Regions from separate parts of the Homo sapiens genome. Here regions 2 and 3 are each linked to region 1. The links are contacts of gene promoters, found by promoter capture Hi-C in blood cells and fetal thymus (Javierre and others, 2016). All regions are on one chromosome and are shown on one strand. Each heading gives the region's core, a stretch centred on a gene start or on the middle of the fragment in contact. The rest is flanking DNA. Distances are from core to core; before and after follow the strand shown. Region 1 holds the start of NEMF (nuclear export mediator factor). Region 2 overlaps PSMC6 (proteasome 26S subunit, ATPase 6). Region 3 holds the start of ERO1A (endoplasmic reticulum oxidoreductase 1 alpha).

What was found. Contacts are between HindIII fragments. The CHiCAGO score rates a contact against its expected background, and 5 or more counts as called.
Region 2: a fragment that was not itself captured here is called in contact with the fragment with the promoter of NEMF in region 1 in 1 of 17 cell types (neutrophils); the score reaches 5.0 in neutrophils.
Region 3: a contact is called between the fragment with the promoter of ERO1A here and the fragment with the promoter of NEMF in region 1, in 1 of 17 cell types (neutrophils). The highest score is 6.0, in neutrophils.

Annotation. Positions count from the first base shown.
Region 1 is chr14:49,851,178-49,854,885 of GRCh38, forward strand. NEMF (nuclear export mediator factor) reads right to left here and starts at 1,611. Exons shown (of 33, transcript NM_004713.6): 1 at 1,518-1,611; 2 at 630-698; 3 at 386-488. The coding sequence starts at 1,576. It also overlaps RN7SL3. RefSeq lists an enhancer at 1,618-1,857 and a silencer at 2,661-2,720. The HindIII fragment of the contact is 4,280 bases long and covers 772-3,708 here.
Region 2 is chr14:52,711,920-52,715,627 of GRCh38, forward strand. It overlaps PSMC6 (proteasome 26S subunit, ATPase 6), which reads left to right. Exons shown (of 14, transcript NM_002806.5): 7 at 1,962-2,049. Among named protein-coding and RNA genes, the nearest start is that of PSMC6, 6.6 kb to the left of the region's middle. The HindIII fragment of the contact is 3,410 bases long and covers 264-3,673 here.
Region 3 is chr14:52,693,505-52,697,212 of GRCh38, forward strand. ERO1A (endoplasmic reticulum oxidoreductase 1 alpha) reads right to left here and starts at 2,054. Exons shown (of 16, transcript NM_014584.3): 1 at 1,864-2,054. The coding sequence starts at 1,977. RefSeq lists enhancers at 1,579-2,080, 1,686-1,735 and a silencer at 1,986-2,525. The HindIII fragment of the contact is 13,242 bases long and covers 1-3,708 here.

The DNA of each region.
Region 1 (3,708 bases), core at 361-2,860:
TGGGTGACAGAGCGAGACTCCTTCTCAAAAACGAACAAAAAAACAAACAAACAAAAACAAAAAAATTAACGTTGGTCTAATTTAGAATTGTTTTGATGCAGAGAAGTGAATTACAGTTAAGGAACTGTAAGGCTGAATGTGATAAAAGCTTGAACTCTAATAGTGACTGTGGAAACAGAAGATCTGGAGCAGAACAGGATGTGAAAGGTAATGGGGAGAAATCAATTAATAAATATTCACTTTATTCAACCCATTATCTGTCAACCACTCCCTTTACCTTCATTTTATCTGCACTTTATTCGTAACAGTGAAGGAAACCCCAATTAAAAACTTAATTGTTAGTGAGCAATCTCTTAAAATTTAGCTTCAAGCGTAACAAGTTTACCTTCATGGCAAAACTAGACGGCATCATATTCTTAGGCCACTCAAATTCTGTTGTATGAATTCGTATGCCAGATTCAAGTAAAAGTGTAGCTTTAAAGTCCGGTCTGTAGAAGAAAAAAGTCGAATTTTTCTTTAGGGTATATGCCAAAGCTAATTGCTAAACAGGCTTAAAATGTAGGTTAAAAAAAATCAGTAATCTCATACTTAATTGTCAAAGAGAAAATAAGCCTATAAAATGTTCTTACTTTTGAAGACGAATAAGGTATGTCTTATTATCCACATCATAAACATTGTTTACTCTCATTCCTAGCAAGCTGCAAAGATAAAGGAAACATGTAACATGTTACACTATTGTCTGAAACATAAAACTACACATAATTTAATAAAAGCTTCGAAAGAGCGGATCTCAGTCTCTAAGGATATGGAGTCAGCCGAGGAGCAGAGTCTGAAAGCCATTTGGAGATTCAGTTCAAAACTTAAGAGTAACGATTTAAAAACAGAAGTGGTCTATCAGCTCTAGGAACAACACACTATAGCTTGCGTCTTCCAAATGACCCAATTTTGGGGGAGAAATACAGTAAAATATAATCCAATTAATTTATTACAAGGGAGAAAAAAAAAAGATAAAAGAGGGCCCCGAAAATATGACAAAGCTCACAGGGCTGAATAATAGAATCCAGACTAGAATCCAGATCTCAGTCCAAATCTGCTCAATCCAGCTAAAACCGCGATGCTCTCTCTCTCTCTGGGGTGAGGGGAGGGAGGTGTTCAAGAAACCAAGCCCCCAGTCTGGAAACCTCTGAAGCAAACGACCACTCTGGCGTCTCGTGTTTTAACAAACGTTTCCTGCCCAACCCGGACAACCCAGGCCAACAATGCAAGAGCTTCGCGCTAGCGGGGCAAGCCAGAGAGCTGGGAGGACGCGGGGGATGGGGCACGAGGTGCCTGGGACCCCCAGGGGTATCCTAAGGGTCACGGGAAAGACACCACACGCCTGCCCACTCAGGCCTAGGCAGGTCCATAGACGCACTAGGAAATAAGGAAACATATCAAGCTGGTCTGTTTGCGCCATGGGACTCCGGCCTCTGCCTCCTGCACTCCCCACACGAGCCTCGTCACTTAGGGTACTGTACCTAGCATTCAGCTCCGCGAGTACGGCGCGGAGGTCAATGGTGCTAAAGCGGCTCTTCATGGCGAGGCCCGAGGGTCACTACCGCAAGTTCCTCTACTGCCCGGCCGGACTCGACGCCACTTCTCCTCCGCGCAGGCGCACTTGGCGGAGCTCTACGGCCGCGCAGAAGACCCAATATTCCTCGAGGCGAACGTATTTGTGTCGCTTTTCTGAAGATTTCGATTGTCAAGTTGCAGCTGACTCTCTTCATTGTACCAAAATTCAAATTCGAATAAAGATTCAAACTGTTCTCTTGAAACTGCATTCCTTCCTGGAACCCTTACGGACCAGTCTGGTTACCGTGCCCCATTGTGTCTTGGGCTCAAGTCAGCCTTCATAGTGACCCCTGCTGGTCGAAACAATTTTCGAGATGATTATCAGGAGTATTTCCCCACAGGGGGGCCGTAGGGCTCAGTGTAGAAGAGCAAGGACCCCTTTCTGCGCGCTTACTTTGACATAAGATTTTGAAATGTAACGAAACGGAACTGCTTCGGTCCTTCTAAGATTATCCTCAACGATCGAGGCGAACTCTCAAAACGGAGTTCCTATTTTGATGGGTCCTGCTCTCGGAAGGAGCATTCTGCAATTGATTACAGGATTCTCATCGAACCTCGGTCTTGGTACCCCTGAGACTCACCGCAGTACCTGGTGTACAATCGGTGCTCCATAAACACTTGGCAGCATGAATGTGCAAGTGTTTAGCTAGATAATGGTGAAATAAGATAAAAATAAAAACAAGAAGATTCCCAATGGGGGTGGGGTGGGAGGGGGGATTCACAGTGTAGTGAGGAAAATAGTCCTGTAAGAATGTAAATTCTGCATTTCTTTTGTCTTAGGATAGATGCATGGGAAGAAAGGCTACTTTATAAGGTGAGAACTCAAAAGAGGCAGGGTCTCACTATGTTGCCCAGGCTGGAGTGCAGTGGCTATTCACAGGCGCAATCCCACTACTGATCAGCACGGGAGTTTTGACCTGCTCCGTTTCCGACCTGGGCCGGTTCACCCCTCCTTAGGCAACCTGGTGGTCCCCCGCTCCCGGGAGGTCACCATATTGATGCCGAACTCAGTGCGGACACCCGATCGGCATAGCGCACTACAGCCCAGAACTCCTGAACTCAAGGGATCCTCCAGCCTCAGCCTCCCGAGTAGCTGGGACTACAGGCACGCGCCACCGCGCCCGGCGCTCGGCGTCGCTGCAAAAGAGCTGCTAGAGGCTTGCAGGCTACACATGGTAGCAACCAGAATTCCTACCACCAGAAGGCGACTCTAAACAGAAAGGGCGCCGCTGCTATTTCAGAACTGGTACCAGTAGATGCAAAAATGGCTATAGCACATACTGCACAGCATTACTGTCATACGGTACAGTAAACCATACAGAATGGCCCAAAATATGAAAGCATTGGGGAGAAGGTGGAGAACAGGGAACTTTTGTATGCTGTTGATGGGAATGTAAATTAGTAGAGCCATTGTGCAAAACAGTATAAAGGCTCCTCACAAAATTAAGAATAGAATTACCATGTGATCTAGCAACAACATCACTATCCTGAAGATATATGTTCATGTTCATTGCAGCATTATTCACAATAGCCAAGATATAGGGATAATCTACTTTTCATCAATGGATGAACGGATAATGAGTGCAAATATATATGTACACACACACACACACACACATACATACATACAGTGGAATATTATTCAGCTTTCAAAAAAGAAATAAATCTTGCTGTTTGCAACTGGCATGGATTTAACAACATGGATGAACCTGGAGGACATTATGCTAAGTGAAATAAGCCAGACATAAAAAGACAAATACTGCATGATCTCACTTATACGTGGAATCTAGAAGTTTCTCATAGAAACAGACAGCAGAAATGTGGTTTCCAGGACTTGGGATGTAGGGGAAATGGGAAGATACTGGTCAAAATGCACAAACTTTCGGTTGTAAGTAGAGTAAGTTATGGAGACTTAATGTACAACATGCTGATTATAGTTCATAGTAATGTATTGTATGCTTGAAATTTGCATGGGAACAGAAAACCAAATACCGTATGTTCTCACTTATAAATGGGAGCTGAATGATGAGAACACATGGACCCATGGAGGGGAACAGCACACACTGGCGCTTATCAGAGGGTGGAGAATGGGAGGAG
Region 2 (3,708 bases), core at 719-3,218, 2.9 Mb after region 1:
AGGGTACCTGTTCCTTAAATATTTTATTTTGTTAAAGCTGTTTGCTGCCATTCCAGAAAACCACTGGCTTTAGGATTGTCTTAAATCTTGTAAGCTTTTAGGTGAACAGTCAAATCAGGATTGCCTTACTTCATAGCACAGACAGCTTCTTAACTGTTATCTGTAAAGCAAATTACATTGTCCTATGGATTTTATCCTAAATTAGGCTGTGAATATTTAGGAATTAATGGGAATAATTGGAATGTCTTACACAATCTGATTTAAGCTTTAAGCCAGTTCTCATACTTCAGTACATTAATTTTTTTTGGAACACTTATTAAAAATACACATTACTAGGCCCTCTGAGTGGTTTTGATGGACTAGATTGGGGGTAGGCACAGGAATTAGCATTTAAACAAGCATTCCAAGTGATTATGAAACCAAATTTTTCTTTGACAATACTTGAGGAAGCACTGGTCTAAGTGTAAAAAAAAAAGGCAGTTCTCACCTGTATTAATGAAAGGGCAACAGAGGAAGAACAGGTGCTTCATAAAACGGTGAAAACTTGCTTTCAACAGTGATTTGCTGCATTAGCCATAGGAGCAGAAAGAATCCCATGTATACATGCAGTATCCTTTACTGTCTGCAGATACTTTACACTTTAGAGTATTGATTTCTCTCACTTCTGGCTTTTCCCAGTCACGCTTTATGCACATATGGACACAACTTTTTTTTTTCTTTTGAGACAGGGTCTGGTTCTTTTGCCCAGGCTGGAATGCAGTGGTGCAGTCTCAGCTCACTGCAACCTCTACCTCCCAGGCTGAAGTCATCCTCTCACCTCACCCTCCCAAGTAGCTGAAGGCATGCGCCACCACATGTGACTAATTTTTTTATTTTTTGTAGAGATGGGGTTTCACCATGTTGTCCAGGCTCTTCTCGAACTCCTGAACTCAAGCCATCCTCCAGCCTTGGCCTCCCAAAGTGTTGGGATTTACAGGCGTGAGCCACCGCACCTAGCCCAACACAACTATTCAATAGAAATTTCTCTCTCGGTCAGGCATGGTGGCTCACGCCTGTAATCCCAGCACTCTGGGAGGCTGAGGTGGGTGGATCATCTGAGGTCAGGAGTTCAAGACCAGCCTGCCAATACAGTGAAACCCCATCTCTTCTAAAAGTACAAAAATTAGCCAGGTGTGGTGGTGGCGCCTGTAGTCCCAGCTACTCAGGAGGCTGAGACAGGAGAATCTCTTGTACCCGGGAGGCAGAGGTTGCAATGAGCCAAGATCATGCCATTGCACTCCAGCCTGGGCAACAGACTCTGTCTCAAAAAAAAAGAAATTTCTCTCTTAAGTTACTGGTACTATAAGTAATTTAAATTGGACTTTCAGATCTTCAATTTCTCTAGTCTCTACTTTTCTTCCTTGAATCAGTCTTGAGAGCAGAACATACTGTTCTTTAAAAGCTGCCGTGGCAAAATGCCAACAGATAAAAATTGTATATACCTTTTCTCTTGGTATGTTGTCAAATCCATCCCCCATTTTAGAATTATTTTGTGTTGTATTTTCAAATGCAAACTAGTATAGATCTTTTGAGTTGTGTTTTTTGTTTATATGTTCATTTGACTTAACTGATTTTTTTGTGGTATAATTTTTCATTGAGGTATAATTACATTAAAAAAATGTAGATTCTTAAGTGTACATTTCAAATATGTTTGGACAAGTTATATATCTGTGTAACCATCACCCCAATCAAGTGTGTGGTTTATTTAAAAAACATTATTTGAAATTTTTTAGATTTAAGAGATCTTAAATCTACCTGGAGCAAAACCTCTTAATATAAATGGTTTTACCTAGCATGGAAGTCTAGGTCTATTAAGAATTATGATGTGTACACCTAACTAAGGTGATATTTGACTTAGAGTATTTGAAAGTACATTAAAAATCTTGACTAACTTTTTAAGAAAGATTTAACTTCTTTTCTAGGTGATAGAATTACCTCTTACAAACCCAGAGTTATTTCAGCGTGTAGGAATAATACCTCCAAAAGGCTGTTTGTTATATGGACCACCAGGTTGGTATTGAATTATTTCTACTCCACCAATAAGATAAATGAATTAAGGAATTAAAAAAAAAAAGACAATTTTTTTATTTTTATTTTTTTGAGACACGGTCTCACTCTGTTGCCCAGGCTGTAGTGCAGTGGCACAATCTGGGCTAACTGCAACCTCTGCCTTCCGGGCTCAAGTGATTCTCCCACCTCAGTCTCCCACGTAGCTGGGACTGCAGGCGTGCATCACCATGTCTGGTTAATTTTTGTATGTTTTGTAGAGAAGCAATTTTGCCATATTGCTCAGGCTATCTCAAACTCCTGGACTCAAGCGATCTGCCCACCTTAGCCTCCCAAAATGTTGGGATTACAAGCATAAACCACTGCGCCTGGCCATAAGGTGGAAATTTGATGTGGGCAGTTCCAACTTCTCCTCTCTTCAGAGTGAGAATGAGATAGGATATTTATGTCTACTGTTCTTTGAGGCATGCTTAGTGCATTTGTGCCTCACAGTACATTTATCTTAACAGGCCATGTGATTCTAGTGCAACAGTCCTCAAATTGTGGTTCACAGACCCAGAGGTGCTTTCATGGACTCTGTAAGGTCAAAACTACTTTATAATACTGAAATGTTAAGCCAGGCGCAGTGGCTCACACCTGTAATCCCAGCACTTCGGGAGGCCGAGGCAGGCAGATCACCAGAGGTCAGGAGTTTGAGAGCAGCCTGGCCAACCAACATGATGAAACCCTGTCTCTACTAAAAATACAAAAATGAGCCAGGCGTGGTGGCGTGCACCTGTAATCCCAGCTACTCGGGAAGCTGAGGCAGGAGAATTGCTTGAACCTGGGAGGCAGAGGTTGCAGTGAGCCGAGATTGCCCCACTGCACTCCAGCCTGGCTGACAGAGTGAGACTCCTTCTCAAAAAAAAAAAAAAAAAAAAAAATTTTTTTATATAAAGCAAATGTACCTATAGCATACTGCTTGACATATGTAGCCCCACAATGACACAAAACAAAAAACTAAAATGTTGTTTGGCTCTTCCACTGTGTTGACATTTGTGCTGATGGTGCAAGAGCACCATGGGTAAAATTAAATTACTTGCACTGTAGTGTGAATCAGCATTAGTGGCATGAAACGGTGCTAGTTAGTAGCCATTGCGTTCTTGACTGCCACATACTTGCAGTGTAAAAAAAAAAAAAGTCAGTTTCACTATAAAGTCCTTGGTGAAACAGTAAAAATTATTAATTTTGTTAAATCTTCATCTTTGGGTAATATTTTGTGTTCTTCATGATAAAAGGGAAAATAAATATAAAGTACTGCTGCATATTGAATAAGATAGTTGTCTTTAGGAAAAGCACTTGTGCAGTTATTTAAGTTGCCAGCTGAATTCATTGCTTTTTATGGAATACTATTTTTGCTTGAATGGACCATTTACAGATATGCTGTGATTATCAGACTGGTTATTGGTTATTAGTTATTGATTACTCAAGACTGGTTTTTGGTTATTTGGCGCACATTTTTTCCAAAGCGAACAAATTAAGCCTGTCATGTTAAACAACTGACACCATCTATTGCCATTGATAAAATATGAAATGTCAAGTGAAAATTAGAATTTTTAGAAACATATATCTGGCACTATGTGGTTGAAGCTTTTTCTTTTTTTCTTTTCTTTTCTTTTTTTT
Region 3 (3,708 bases), core at 804-3,303, 2.8 Mb after region 1:
TATATATTCCATTGGTTCTATCCCTCTAGAGAACCCGGACTAATACAGACCGGGTCTCCAAGCTGGTCTCGAACTCCTGGGCTCACTCCATCCTGCCACCTCAGTGTCCCAAGTAGCTGAGACCACAGGCGCACACCATCACACCCAGCTTTTTTCTTTTTTTAATTTTTTTTGTAGAGACGGGGGTTTCACTATGTTGCCCGTGCTGGTCTTGAACTCCTGGACTCAAGAGATCCTCCCACCTCAGCCTCCCAAAGTGCTGGGATTACAGGCTGGAGCCACCACACCCAGCCCAATTTACTATTTTTCAAGGTTGAGTCTGAAAAGAAACACAGATAGCCACTCTCGTTCTAAAAGAAAAAGAAAGGGGTTTAACAGAATTTTATGTTAGGGAAGTATTTGAATATGAGGGTATTGTGAAAGAGGAAAAGTTTAATCACTAGTTAGAAGAAAAAGAAAATAAATGCAAAGAATTTAAAGTTCTATTTTAAGCAGAACTCCAAAAAGGTTATTAAGGAAAAAAAAAGTAAAAGTTGAAGAGTTCAACATGTACTTTTATTCCAGTATCCAAATCTCCAGAATGTAGCTGAAAATGTTACATTGGACATCTTCTTTCCGTAAAGAATATTTTATTTTAAAGTCACTTATTTCTATCTTATTTTTTAAATGTTTAATCTCGGTGTTGCGTTATATTTCTAATCAGAAGAAAAATGACCCTTTTCCTTTTAAGTACTTGATTGTGTGTCCTTTGTAATGATTGAAGGTAAAGGACTTTTCAATGTCTCAGTTGTAAAGTAGCAATTTTCTTTCAACTTCCCTTAGTTTCCTAGATAACACTCACCTCAACTCCCAAATCACTCAGCAAAACAACAAAATCCAAGAATGTAAAGTAGTGAAAGAGAAACCTTTCATAATATTTAAATGCATCTTTCCTTTGACATGGTATCATGCCCCTAAACACATAAAATGGTATTTCTGATAATAAATTAATAGCAAAATCCACTTAGGAATAACATGGATGCCTAACCCTTAATTTTGTATAAAACGTAATTTTTATCAACAGAGTCAACCAAAAAGTGGCTTTGACAAGAGTAATCACATTGAAATACTAGATACTGAAGATAATGGAAAACTGTAAGTTTCTCTCAATTTTTTGCTCAAGAAACCACATCTCTTACAGAAGGAAATGATCATAATCCGCTTGTAATTAAACTTGTGCACTGAAGAATAAGGACCTTCCTCCCAATTCGTACCAGCTTAACGGGTGTCACGATAAGAGAATCTCATTACATTCGAGAAAAAGAGCACACAGGACCAGAAACCAGAGGGCAACTGCAGTCCCAAAGACATCAGGTAGTTGGGCTTACACACAGAAAAACCGCAAGCAGCCATTCTTCCGCCTAACATCGAAATCTGAGATCAGCCCACAAACGTCTTAGCCAGAAAGGCTGGCGAAATGCACGCAGCACAGGTACTGGGTACACAAGTTCCTGGTCAAGAGAGAAGTGAGAAAGATCCAGGTTCTGTGAAAATAGCAAATACTGGCAGGGCATTATACACTGTGCACACTCTCCCCGGGCAGATAAGACCAACAAAGATGCATAAACCCACTCAACCGCGTGCACCCAACCCCTCTCCTGGTCCGAGGCACCGGAGGGCGCGGCGACGTCCAGGCTGCCGTGGAGGCCCGGTCCACGCCAAGCCAGACTCAGTCCCGGCCACCGGGCAGCAGCACCGGAGTCTCATTCCCGGTGGGAAGAGATGCAAGGACGCACCCCCAGCCGCTCACCCGCCAGGGCGTGCGGGACAGTGCACGCCGCGGAGGGCGCCGGGACCCTCAGCACCAACGCGCACATCGCTCACCTGGCAGAAGCACCTCTGTGCCGCTGTCTCCGGGGGCTGCTCCTCTCCGTGGCCCGAGCTGAGCAGCCACACGGCGCCCAGGAGGCCAAACAAGAATCCCCAGCCGCGGCCCATTGCAGCTCCGGCAGCTTGTCGCCCCACGCTTGGGAGGCCAGTCCGCACGCTCGGTCGCGGGCCGTGCGCCCTCAGATGAAGCCCGTGCGGGCCGGCCCCAGCGGCGCCCCACCTCCGGGCCGCCTCCCAGGCCCGCCTCGGCCCTCCTGCCTCTCAGCGATCGCCACCTCGCGACCCAGCCTGTGGACGTGCCGCGGCGCCCGCGCCGGCAGCCCGGGGCCTCGGACCGGTTCCTTCCCGCCGCGTGAGGCTGACGCACCGACCAGCTTCCCGGCTCGGCCCCGCCCGGTCCGCTGCGCCCGCGCCCGTCCCCGCCCCCGGCTCCCTGACGCCCCCGGCCTGGAGACGCAACCCGACGCGCACAACCCCAGACCCTGCGCGGGAGTCGGGGGTCCTTCCAGTTCCCAGAGCGAGAGCGAAAGCCGGAGGGGCCTGTGTTTTCCTGCGGGGTTGGGGGGCGGGGGGTGCCCGCCCCGCGCCGCCCCGCCCAGCCCCAGCCCGCTCACTCCCGGCCAATCCTTCCGTATCTCAATGCGAGACAATCAAATCGTACGAATTACGTGTCCACCGTGTTCCCGGCGGAGTCTTAAAGCTGAAAGGGATATTAGAGAGCATCTAGACCAGGGCAGCATATGTCATTTATATTTTTAGTAGCCACAGCAAAAGAGTAAAAATAACAGGTACATTTTATTTTTAAAATATTTTTATTTAACCCCGAATGTGCAAAATATTATTTCAAAATATAACCAACATTAAATTTATTCATAAGATATTTGACTTTTTTTGTCTTTGAAATCCAGTGTGTATTCGATGCGAACTAGACCCATTTCATAGTCAAATGTGGCTGGCTAGTGCCCACTGTATTAGACAGCGAGGGTGGAAGCCACCCGCTCATATCATAGGAAGAAACAGGCCTAGAGAAGTGAGGTAAGGTGAGCAAGGATTGGAGGTCCTCTGATACCCAGTCCTGGTCTTTTAACATTCAGAGTTGGGACTAGTCTATCCGCTTTTTTTTTTTCCAGACAGGGTCTCCCTGGGTCACCCAGGCTGGCCTGCAATGATGCGATCGCAGCTCACTGCAACCTCGAACTCCTGGGCTCAAGCGATCCTCCCACCTAAGCCTCCTGAGTAGCATGAACTACAGGCGTGCGCCACCACGCCTGGCTAATTTTATTTTTAGTAGAAACGAGGTTTCACCATGTTGCCCAGGCTGGTCTCAAACTCCTCAAGAGCGATTCTCCCGCCTCAGCCTCCCAAAGTGCTGGGATTACTTTTTTTTTTTTTTTCGAGGCGGAGTCTCGCTCTGTCGCCCAGGCTGGAGTGCAGTGGCGTCATCTTGGCTTACTGCAATCTCTGCCTCCCAGGTTCAAGAGATTCTCCTGCCTGAGCTTCCCCAGTAGCTGGGATTACAGGCGTAAGCCACCACACACTCGGCTAATTTTTGTATTTTCAGTAGAGAAGGGGTTTTGCCATGTTGGCCAGGCTGGTCTCTAGCTCTGAGCTCAGGTGACCCACCCATCTCAGCCTCCCAAAGTGCTAGAATTGCAGACATGAGCCACCGCACCTGGCCTTACTTTTTGTTTTTTGTTTGTTTGTTTGTTTGTTGTTTTAAGAAGACTTTTTTTTGAGACACTCTCACTTCCTCACCCAGGCTGGAGTGCAGTGGCGCAATCTCGGGTCACTGCAACCTCCGCTTCCCGGGTTTAAGTGATTCTTACGCCTCAGCTACCC